4 separate regions of the Homo sapiens genome follow, and all the other regions are linked to region 4. Evidence: promoter capture Hi-C in 16 types of primary human blood cells and fetal thymus (Javierre and others, 2016). All regions are on one chromosome and are shown on one strand. Each heading gives the region's core, a stretch centred on a gene start or on the middle of the fragment in contact. The rest is flanking DNA. Distances are from core to core; before and after follow the strand shown.

What was found. The method cuts DNA at HindIII sites, captures the fragments that hold promoters and counts their contacts. A CHiCAGO score of 5 or more calls a contact.
Region 1: a contact is called between a fragment that was not itself captured here and the fragment with the promoter of CCDC89 in region 4, in 7 of 17 cell types (non-activated CD4 T cells, naive CD8 T cells, naive CD4 T cells and 4 more). The highest score is 13.3, in non-activated CD4 T cells.
Region 2: a fragment that was not itself captured here is called in contact with the fragment with the promoter of CCDC89 in region 4 in 9 of 17 cell types (total CD4 T cells, naive CD4 T cells, naive CD8 T cells and 6 more); the score reaches 11.9 in total CD4 T cells.
Region 3: a fragment that was not itself captured here is called in contact with the fragment with the promoter of CCDC89 in region 4 in 8 of 17 cell types (total CD4 T cells, naive CD8 T cells, non-activated CD4 T cells and 5 more); the score reaches 11.7 in total CD4 T cells.

What each region holds. Positions count from the first base shown.
Region 1 is chr11:86,217,697-86,220,396 of GRCh38, reverse strand. No RefSeq gene overlaps it. Among named protein-coding and RNA genes, the nearest start is that of LINC02695, 26 kb to the right of the region's middle. The HindIII fragment of the contact is 1,706 bases long and covers 461-2,166 here.
Region 2 is chr11:86,287,158-86,289,857 of GRCh38, reverse strand. It overlaps a transcript of EED not described here. Among named protein-coding and RNA genes, the nearest start is that of MIR6755, 10 kb to the right of the region's middle. The HindIII fragment of the contact is 5,987 bases long and covers 1-2,700 here.
Region 3 is chr11:86,268,410-86,271,109 of GRCh38, reverse strand. It overlaps EED (embryonic ectoderm development), which reads right to left. Exons shown (of 12, transcript NM_003797.5): 9 at 2,549-2,654. Among named protein-coding and RNA genes, the nearest start is that of MIR6755, 8.6 kb to the left of the region's middle. The HindIII fragment of the contact is 6,326 bases long and covers 1-2,700 here.
Region 4 is chr11:85,684,901-85,687,600 of GRCh38, reverse strand. It overlaps CCDC89 (coiled-coil domain containing 89), which reads left to right and starts at 1,406. Exons shown (of 1, transcript NM_152723.3): 1 at 1,406-2,700. The coding sequence starts at 1,471. The coding sequence ends at 2,595. RefSeq lists enhancers at 1,610-2,109, 2,110-2,611. The HindIII fragment of the contact is 2,434 bases long and covers 792-2,700 here.

The DNA.
Region 1 (2,700 bases), core at 64-2,563, 530 kb before region 4:
ATTCTCCTTTTTTTTTTTTTTTTTTTTGAGACGGAGTCCAGCTCTGTCGCCCAGGCTGGAGTTCAGTGGCGCCATCTCAGCTCACTGCAACCTCTGCCTCCCGGGTTCACACCATTCTCCTGCCTCAGCCTCCGGAGTAGCTGGGACTACAGGCGCCCGCCATTACGCCTGGCTAATTTTTTGTATTTTTAGTAGAGAGAGGGTTTCACTGTGTTAGCCAGGATGGTCTCGATCTCCTGACCTTGTGATCCACCCGCCTCAGCCTCCCAAAGTGCATTCTCCTTTTTGATTGGCATCACCTGCTGCCTTTCTCCTTTCTCACTGTATTTAGAGCAATCTTTGCCAAATGATTTTTGTGTCTTTCCAGACCATGATGTGGTTGACTAAGAATTTGTTTAAGCCTAACTATTTTTCAGTTCTTCATTTGACTCAAAAAGTAGTTTGTTGTAGAATAGAAGCTTCCCCTTGAAACAGCATATGGCAAGACCTGGAATTAAAAATAGACTTAACCACTGAAAAATTCTTCCATAAAATTAAATTAAATACGTAGTACAATTCTCTTTTACCATGTTATCCTCAATGGATAAAGATGAACTTTTCTCCTTATTAAAATTGAGAATGTTGCAGAATATTTCCATTATGTGCGAAGAAAAGAGGAACTGGCACTTATTAGCACACATAGTATGCCAGTCTCTGTGACAGGTGCAATCTGAGCGCCATCCTACCACTATGCTTGAATAGAGAGATGGTCATACAATGTCAACATGGTAATAAACTTCAGAGGTCATATAACCCACTGCTTTGGTTCTTTAGAGAAAACGCTGAGGCCCAGAGAGTAGGTTAGTGATCATTCAGTTCATTAAAAACCAAATGGGACTTGAGCTGAGTTTTCTGACACTTAGTCAGTGTTCTTTCTATAACATACTGGTATTCTCAGGAGAGAATTCGTCATGACTTATAGTTACATAGTCACCATTCTTTCCTGTATCTCTGTCTGCCCCATCTCTTTCTTCTATTTCTTCCTTTCTTTGTATTTTTTCATCTTTAACAGTAATGTTTTCTCTATTCTTAGAAAATTGGGTGTTTGAAAACAGCCCTCAACAACTTAATTCAACTTTTATCTAATGATTATTAACTGAATACTGCATCTTAGACACCGTGCTGGGTAATTGGTTGGATACAGTAAGATAATATATACAGATATAACTAAAATACAAGGCAGTGTATGATAAGAACTTTGTAAATAAGTTTTACAGGATTTCAGAGGTAGGTGTGGGGAAAGTGGCCAGTGAACTGGGCTTTTAAAGAATGGAAAAGGTTTTCATAAGGATAAGGGCTGAAGGTAGGACAATAATTTTACACAAATTGAAGAGCAGTAATAAGGATACAGAAGAAGGGAGCAACGCAAGTTGGAGAGATGTCAAGTAGAATTGTATGAGTAACAAACTGTCTTACAGGAGAAAATGGAGGACAAGGCTGAGAAACAGGCTGTTTTATTTCTGCAGCAGGGCAAGGGATCCTTCCCCTTATCAAGGCTAGAATACAAAGAAGGTGGAAGCCCCTATGACAGTCAGCTGTCATAGAAGTTGTAGATAGGTCACCTAGAGGCAGCACTGGAAACCAGCGAAAGTCAGCAATCCAGGTGACAAAAGTATCAACGAACTGGTACGAAAGCTACTACCAACTGGTACAAAAAGAACCACAGTCCAAGGAGACGCTTACTAGCACACGCCTACCTCCAGGGGGTGCTCAAGGCTTCCGTCCTTCCTTCCAAAGAAAAAAGATCTCTGAAGAGACTCCAGGACAAAATGGGGATTTCAGATATAGATGGAGGTTTTAGAGAAATGATTCTGCAGGGGATTCTGTTGAAGGAATAAAGTGGTTATAAACAGAAGTGGGCTGAGAGACTTTCCCCGTCAGTGACCTCTGGCGACTCGGCTTTTGTTAACTCTTGTAATGCTTTCATCTTTTCATCTCTTCACTGCCTTGGGATTGGTGTCTGGGACGTTCTCAAGTCAGGAGGGCAAAAGTAACCTCAGGGAGTCCACTTTGTTCAGTCCAGCTGCTGAGGCAAGAGATCTGATAGGGTTTGGAGCCCAGCATGAACTGGCAGCAAAGCATAGGCGTTTGTCCAGCGTCCTCTGTGTATGTGTTGGATGAGAAGCTTGTGCAGTCACATGCAGGATTCAGAATCCTGGCAGATTCTGAATCCACCTCCTAATTGTACAAGATTGGCATCTGGTGTGGTCTCGCAAGGGACTAAGATTTAGGAGGAAGGAAATTCATAGCAGGATTCTTGCTGCGAGGAAATCTTACCCAAACCTTTAATTAGTGATTACCAACAGGCAGAGATGGATAACTATTTCTAAAGAAAATGTACTCTTGAGAGGCTGAGACTACAAAGGCACATAGCTGCATATTTGTGAGGCTCCATCCCTTATGGTGGGAACAGAATCTGGCCTCGCCAGGAGTCACTTTTGGGACTAGAACATCCTGCCAGCAGAAGTCTGGAATTTGGAGAAATGCAAAGCCAATTGTGAGGTAGATACCTTCTCTACAAAGTAAAGATTGTGTTCTTGGACAGAGCCAGCCCTCATTTAATTTAGGAGTGAGAAGGTGGAAATGCGAGAAGCAATGGCTTGAATCTAGGATCCTGGAGAGGTGTTTAATCCGTAGGAATGAAGCAGACCTGTGAATGAC
Region 2 (2,700 bases), core at 142-2,641, 600 kb before region 4:
CCTTCACCTCCCCTATACTCTCTTCTATATAGCCTGAAAATCATCAGAAATTCACTTAAGCAAAGATTGTTTAGCTGATTTTTTCATTCATTTGACATTTCTTTGAATGTCTATTATGAGTCATATAGTGTGTTAAGCAACGGGCATTCAAAAAATAAGGAAAGGGCCAGGCGCGGTGGCTCATGCATGTAATCCAAGCACTTTGGGAGGCCAAGGCGGGTGGATCACCTGAGATCAGGAGTTCGAGACCAGCCTGACCAATATGGTGAAACCCCGACTCTATTAAAAATACAAAAATTAGCTGGGCGTGGTGGTGTGCACCTGTAGTCCCAGCTACTTGGGAGGCTGAAACAGGAGAACTTCTTGAACCCAGGAGGCAGAGGTTTCAGTGAATGGAGATCGTACCACTGCACTCCAGCCTGGGCGACAGAGTGATACTCTGTCTCAAAAAAAAAAAAAAAGGACGGGGAGGGGGGAAAGGCTCCTGTTTGAAGAGCTCTTAGTCTGGCACTGATTTTAGAGCATAGGAAACCACAAGATGTGTGCATTTCAATGAGATGCTAAAATGAGCAGGTCATTAAAGGAGGTAGAAGAGAGGCAGTAACTCAGAAAGGCAGAGCCCTTTCCAGAGGACATTTGTTTTACAAATATTAACTGAGCCCAACATCATGCATGTAGAAAGCAGCCTGACTACCTGGAAAGCCTCTACTACCAGGAAGGCAGCCTAGCAGGCTGCCTGTTCTAAACCTGGCAAGGCCACCAGAAAGAGGCATCAGACAGTGAGGGGCCCTATCAAATCCTAGTCTGTTCACAGCTGGCGTCTTGGATGTACTGGCCTTGATTATGGCCCAGAAGACTAGAAAGCACAGCCACAGACGAGAAGAGTCCTGGCAGAAAGCTGAGTCAGGCCCCAGTCTGGGACAGGAACTGCTAAATCCTAGACACAGAAGCAATTCAATAGGCGGCAGAGCTAGTGACAATTCTCTACCACTCCCACCCGTAACCTTGGACATGGGTTTGAAAGACACCAGTTAGTAACAGTGAGAAAATTTCAAGTTGACTGTGGAAAGTTGGGCTGGGCTGGGCTGAAATCAACTTTATATAATTATATCTACTTTGGGCTGTTTTGTGTTGTGCCCAGCCAATATAAAATTGCAGTTTAGCAAAACTTTTGAGAGTTTATTATTAAAATACTCCCTAAATGATTATGGTACATTCACTCTTTTCACATGTGGGAACCACTGCATAATAAAGGTCTATATAGGGCCATCACTAATACAGTGCTTTGCACACCTGGCCAATTAAATACATGAATAAATGATTCTCTCCTGTCTACTAGGAGCTAACATTTTAGAGCAAAGGCAAAAAAGTATTTTGAAGGGTCCTTCACAGAGAGTTTTGACTTCCCAAGGGTCACAAACTCTGTATTTCAGCCAGATTTACTCAGGGATTAAGGGGAATAATGCAGAACTCTTACATAAGTTATTCATTTTATTATTTTTCATTAGAGTCAGGGTCTCGCTCTGTCACCAGAGCTGGAGTGCAGTGGCGGGATCATGGCTCAAGGCTCAAGCGATCCTCCTGCCTCAGCCTTCCAAGCAGCTAAGACTACAGGCATGTGCCACCACACCTGGCTAGTTGTTTTTTGTAGAGATGGAATCTCGCTATGTTGCCAGGGCTGGTCTCAAACTCTTGGGCTCAAGTGATCTTCCTGCATCAGCCTTCTAAAGTGCTGGGATTACAGGCCTGAGCCACCATCCCCTGCAGGTTGCTATTCAGAACTGGGATTATTAAGACAATTTGCAACCAGATTCAGTAAGATAAGCCAAGCCTTTCTTATATGAAATATTAACAGTTTAAAAAGTGATTTTGCATGGCTGAGCGCGGTGGCTCATGCCTGTAATCCCAGCACTTTGGGAGGTCAAGGTCGGGAGTTCGAGACCAGCCTGACCCATATGTAGAAACCTCATCTCTACTAAAAATACAAAATTCAGGCATGGAGACGCATGCCTGTAATCCCAGCTACTCAGGACGCTGAGGCAGGAGCATCGCTTGAACCCAGGAGGCACAGGTTGCCATGAGCTGAGATTGCGCCATTGCACTCCAGCCTGGGCAACAAGAGCAAAACTCTGTCTCAAAAACAATAAATAAATAAAAAATAGTGATTTTGCAATGAAGAAAAATAATGGCCCATATAGCACAGGGTGTCAGTTCAGTGCCATACACTTCTTATGATCAATGATTTTCTGGCAACCCAGTTTATTGGTTTCGGAATTAAACACACACACTTCCCTCACTCATTATGCAGAAATGTAAGAGAAATCACCCAACAATTTTTTATTCCACATCAGCCTGGGGTACCCAAGCAAGAAAGGCAAAATGAATCTGCTTTCATTCACATGAAGTCTTGCTCTACATCAGAAAATAACCATGAAATACCAAGAATCTTTGTAGAAATCCACCAGCTCAATTCCAAAGTGATAGTCATTTTCTATAAATCACAACAGGGGAAACCCAGAGGTAACCACTGAAAGCAGGGGAAGTTACAGACTGTGGTCTCTGGTTAAAGAGAGGCCATTTAGCACTTTTTACTTATGGTTGTATTTCTCACAATGTGGGCCCCACTTCCACTACCCTTGGTAAAAGCCATCTAGACTCATTTTCCCTAGGTTACTGTGTTTCACACTGCAGGCTGAGATC
Region 3 (2,700 bases), core at 168-2,667, 580 kb before region 4:
AGGTTTAATACAAATCCAGTTAAAAACTCCTTCTCCTCAAAACAACTCCCAGCAAGATTTTTAGAAATGTAGAAAAGATTATTCTAAAATTTACACACAGAAAGACAAAGGAATTAGAATAGCTCAAAACAATTATGAAAAAAATAAAAGCGGGAAAAATCTATCAGATTCCAAGAATAATTATAGAGCTACAATAATGAGGACTGTGTATGTAGTACTGGTGGAGGGACAGATATACAGATGAAACAGAACAGGAAAATCAAAAACAGCCCCACGTAAGTACAGCCAAACAATTTCTGAGAGAGGTGCAAAAGCAATTCAATGGCGGAAGAATAGTCTTCCAACAAATGCTGATGGAACAACTGAGTATCTATAAGAGAAAAATGAACTTCCACCTAAACCTCGCACCTTCATAAGGAAATCAACTCAAAATGGATTACACATTTAATGTAAAACATAGCAGTATAAAACTTTTACAAGAGAACACAGGAGAAAATCTTTAAGGTCTATAGCTTGGTAAGGAGTTCTCAGGCAAAACATCAAAAGCATAATCCATAAAATAATTTTAAAAAATCAATATACTGGATTTAATAAAAACTACAAACATTTGCTCTGTGAAAGACCCTATTAAAGAGGATGAAATGACAAGCTACAGACTGAAAGAAAATATTTGCAAACTATGTATCTGATACAGGATTCATATTTAGAATATATTCAAACTCTCAAAACTCAACAGTTAAAAAAAAAAAAAAAACACAACAAAAAACCAATCCAATTAGAAAATGAGCAAAAGATATGAAAAGACATCACCAAAAAGGATATACGAATGGTAAATAAGCACATGAAAAAGATGTTCAACATCACTAGCCATCAGGGAAATGCAAATTAAGACCACGATGAGATATCACTACACACCTATCAGAACAGCTAAAATAAAAAATAATGACAATACCAAATGCTGGCGAAGATTCGGAGACACTGGATCTCTCATACATTGCTGGTGGGAATGTAAAATGGCACGGCCACTCTGGAAAATAGTTTGGCAGTTTCTTAAAAAACTAAACAAACTTAACCACAACCCAGCAATTGCCCTCCTAGGCATTTACCCAGAGAAATGAAAACTTAAGTCCACACAAAAACCTGGACACAACTGCTGATTAGCAGCTTTATTTGCAATAGCCCAGAACTGGAAATGACCAAAACCTCCTACCATAGATAGTTACATAAACTATGGTAATCCATACCATGGAATACTACTCAGCAATAAAAAAGGAGAACTACTGATACAGGCAACAACCTGGATGGATCTCAAGGGTTTGAGTGGAAAAAAACAATCTTAAAAGGTCCCAAACTGTACCATTCTTGAAATGACAAAATTCACGTGATAAAATGACATAAAACTAAACACACACATTGTACCAGTGTCAATTTTCTGGATTTGATATTGTATTACAGTTATATAATATATAAACTTTGGATTCTGGATAAAGATCATATGGGACCTCTCTGCACAATCTTTGAAACATCCTATGAATCAAGTTATTTGAAGGTCAAAAGTTTAAAGAAAAAAGAAAAAAACAGTTTACACATAAAGCCAAGAAAAAAGTAAATCAGGCTCTGCCCAAGAAAATGTGAAGTGGCCTGAAATTCACATCAAGAAAAGAAACCGGACAGCAATTTCACCAAATTTGATAATCCTAAATGCTCATGTAACATCACCAATAGCTTCTCTAAATTATCAGCTACAAAAAAATACACAGACACACAAACACACACACACACACACCCAGATGGCCTTGACTTACAATGGTCTGATTTACAATTTTTCAACTTTACCAAAATGGTACAAAACAGCTGCAATTTTGAAGTACTTGGAATTTTGAATTTTGATCTTTTCCTGGGCTAGCAGTATGCAGTATGTGAGATATTCAATGCTTTATTATAAAACAGGCTTTGTGTTAGATAATTTTGCCCAACTGTAGGCTAATTCTGAGCACATTTAAGATAGGCTGGGCTAAGCTGATATTCAGTAGGTTATGTGTATTAAATGCGTTTTCAATTTATGATGGGTTTATCACGATGTAATCCCATCATAAGTTGAGGAGCATCTGTATAAATCCATCAACAGGGGCAGGGGTTGGCAAACTACAGCCCATAAGCCAACTCCAGCCACCTGTTTTTATAAATAAAATTTTACTAAAATAGTCACAGAGATACAAAAAAACAAAAGCCAATTCTGTTGGCTTTAGTTACTGGTTATCTTGTAACAATACTGACTATCAGAGAATACTATCACCTTATAAAACTATACTCATCTTACTGGAGCACAAAGAATTATAATTCAATGGCATGTTTTATTCTTAAAACAAGTTTCTAAATATATCAAAATATGAGACTTTAAAAAAGGCAACTTCCCAGCTGCCATTCAATTTAATAAACTACATAAAGTGCTCCCTGCCAAGTTCCAACATGCGCACACACATACACACACACACACACACACACACACACACACGATGGAAGTACAGCTTAACTGCAGTTACCATACCTTAGAAAGTATCAAATCGCCTAACCATCGCACACAATCAACATAATTCCTATGTATGTCTCTGGTAGAAAAATCAGGAAAATGGATTTTCTGAGAAATAAATGGCCTGAAGGAAGAATGGAAATGTAAAAAGTTAAAAGAAAAAATTATAG
Region 4 (2,700 bases), core at 157-2,656:
GCGATGGAGGGAGACTCTGTCTCAAAAAAAAAAAAAAAAAAAAAAAAAAAGTAGTGTCTGTCATATTAGGGATATTTTTCTCAATTTGATTTTTACCTTCAACATCCACTTAATACACATTTATCTGAATCTCCCCCATGTGCCAGGCACTAGTCTAATCATCAAGGATGAAATAGACACAGTCCCTGCCCTTAAGGATCTTACAGTCTAACAGAGGGAAGCTGGCAGATAAACAGTGACTGCAATAAAATTTTCACATCCTCCACCAGAAGTACAAATAGCTATAGCGGATGCACTAAAAGATGTGAGTGACCAATTGGACATGTAGGGGCCAGGAATAGGCTTCAGAGACGATTCTTAACTAAGAATAAAAAGCTTTACTAGAGTGACAAGGGACAAAGTAGGAAAGGCATTCCAAGTAGAGGAACACCTAAAGATAGGGCGAGAGAGCTGGTTAGTGGATTTGGGTTTGGCTTCAATATTTGGGTTTGAGGAGTAAAATGTCAAGAAAATCCAGTGGAAGAAGGGGCTGGAGAGACCTCAGAAGTCACATAATTTAAAAAATTATACATAACTTTTTGAGTAAGCTTTCCCTTTCTGATCTTACATAATGTTTAAGATAAAAAAAAAATCCTTCCTAGCCCCAGAGATTTGATGTTTACCTTCATTTTCTTCTAGTTTCTGTTTACATTTAACTAATCTATCAGGAGTTGACTTTGGCATATAATGGCAAGCTTCATTTGAATCTTATTTTTTCTGTTTTAATGTTTATCTGTGTGGTTCACTAAGCTTCTTTCTGTAACCTTATTTTGCTAATGGGTAAAAACAGGGGGTGTTAAATATCTAATAAAGAGTATTTATGCCCAGGTGGGGACAATGCTAAGAACAACAAAAGAAATTTCACTGGTGTTTTCTATTTTAATACTTAAATACCAAAAGGGAGCTGTGCCAAACATCACGGGTGCAGATATGCAGGCTTTTAGGGTCCTGGCTCTCAGAATACCACTACTACTTTGTATTCATAGACTGAAATTTTTTGAGGAGCCAACCATGTTTCCACAAACAGTAATTTATTCAAACGATAACTGAAGAGGGGAGAGGGAGGATAAATATATCATTGCCTGCTTCATTTGTTTACTACTACCAGAAATTAGGTGGAGTCAGGCTTCCTCCCCTGATGCTGGCTGGAGATTGAGTGGGGTTGGCATCTCTGTGCTGTACAGGCCAGACACTGAGACAGTTGACAACTGAGAGCTGTGATTGGTTAGAAAGGCAAAAGTAACCCGACCAGATTGGCTCTGGACTCCCCCAGATTCCCCTGTTGTTACTTCATAGCATTCTGAAGACCTGTCCACCAATTACAGGGCTCCTTACTGGAAAAACCAACTGCTGGGGAGTGCCAAGAGTCCCTAGCAACACCCTGCAGCGTTTGAAATCTGAGGGGAAAAGACTGTAGTCAGCCCTTAGTGGATGAGAGCGCCTATGCTCCAGAAACAGCAGGCTCCCAGGATGGACACCCCGCCCCCTGAAGAACGCTTAGAGAAGCAAAATGAAAAACTGAACAACCAGGAAGAGGAGACGGAGTTTAAGGAACTGGACGGTCTGAGGGAAGCCTTGGCAAACCTCCGGGGACTGTCAGAGGAGGAGAGGAGCGAGAAGGCTATGCTTCGCTCCCGCATTGAAGAGCAGTCCCAGCTCATCTGCATCCTGAAGCGGAGGTCAGATGAGGCCCTGGAGCGCTGCCAGATCCTAGAGCTGCTCAATGCAGAGCTGGAGGAGAAGATGATGCAGGAGGCTGAGAAGCTCAAGGCCCAGGGTGAGTACAGTCGGAAACTAGAGGAACGCTTTATGACCCTAGCAGCCAACCACGAGTTGATGCTCCGCTTCAAGGATGAATACAAGAGTGAGAACATCAAGCTGAGGGAGGAGAATGAGAAGCTGAGGCTGGAGAATAGCAGCCTCTTCAGCCAGGCTCTGAAGGATGAGGAGGCGAAAGTATTACAGCTCACAGTCCGGTGTGAGGCCCTCACTGGGGAGCTAGAAACGCTGAAGGAGAGGTGTGCTCAGGATGCCTGCCAGGCACAGGCGCGCGAGAAGGAGCTGCTGGAGCTACAGAGCCAGCAGGCCTGCACCCACACCAAGGAGACAGAACAGCTGCGCAGCCAGCTGCAGACCCTCAAGCAGCAGCACCAGCAGGCTGTGGAGCAGATAGCTAAGGCAGAGGAGACACACAGCAGCCTGAGCCAGGAGCTGCAGGCCAGGCTGCAGACCGTCACTAGAGAGAAAGAGGAGTTGCTGCAGCTGTCCATTGAAAGGGGCAAAGTGCTTCAGAACAAACAGGCAGAGATCTGCCAGCTTGAGGAAAAGTTGGAGATAGCAAATGAAGACAGGAAGCATGCGCTGGAGCGGTTTGAGCAAGAGGCAGTGGCTGTGGACAGCAACTTGAGAGTCAGGGAGCTTCAGCGCAAAGTAGATGGGATCCAGAAGGCCTACGATGAACTCAGGCTGCAGTCTGAAGCCTTCAAAAAGCACAGCTTGGATCTTTTAAGCAAGGAGAGAGAACTCAATGGCAAACTCCGCCATCTCTCTCCATAGGGAAGTTTCTGCTTCCTCTGGCCTGCAATTCAGAATTCAAATATTTGCGTCTTAGCATTATGGCAAGAGTAAAGATGATATCCCATTTATTATACTTTCAAGCAC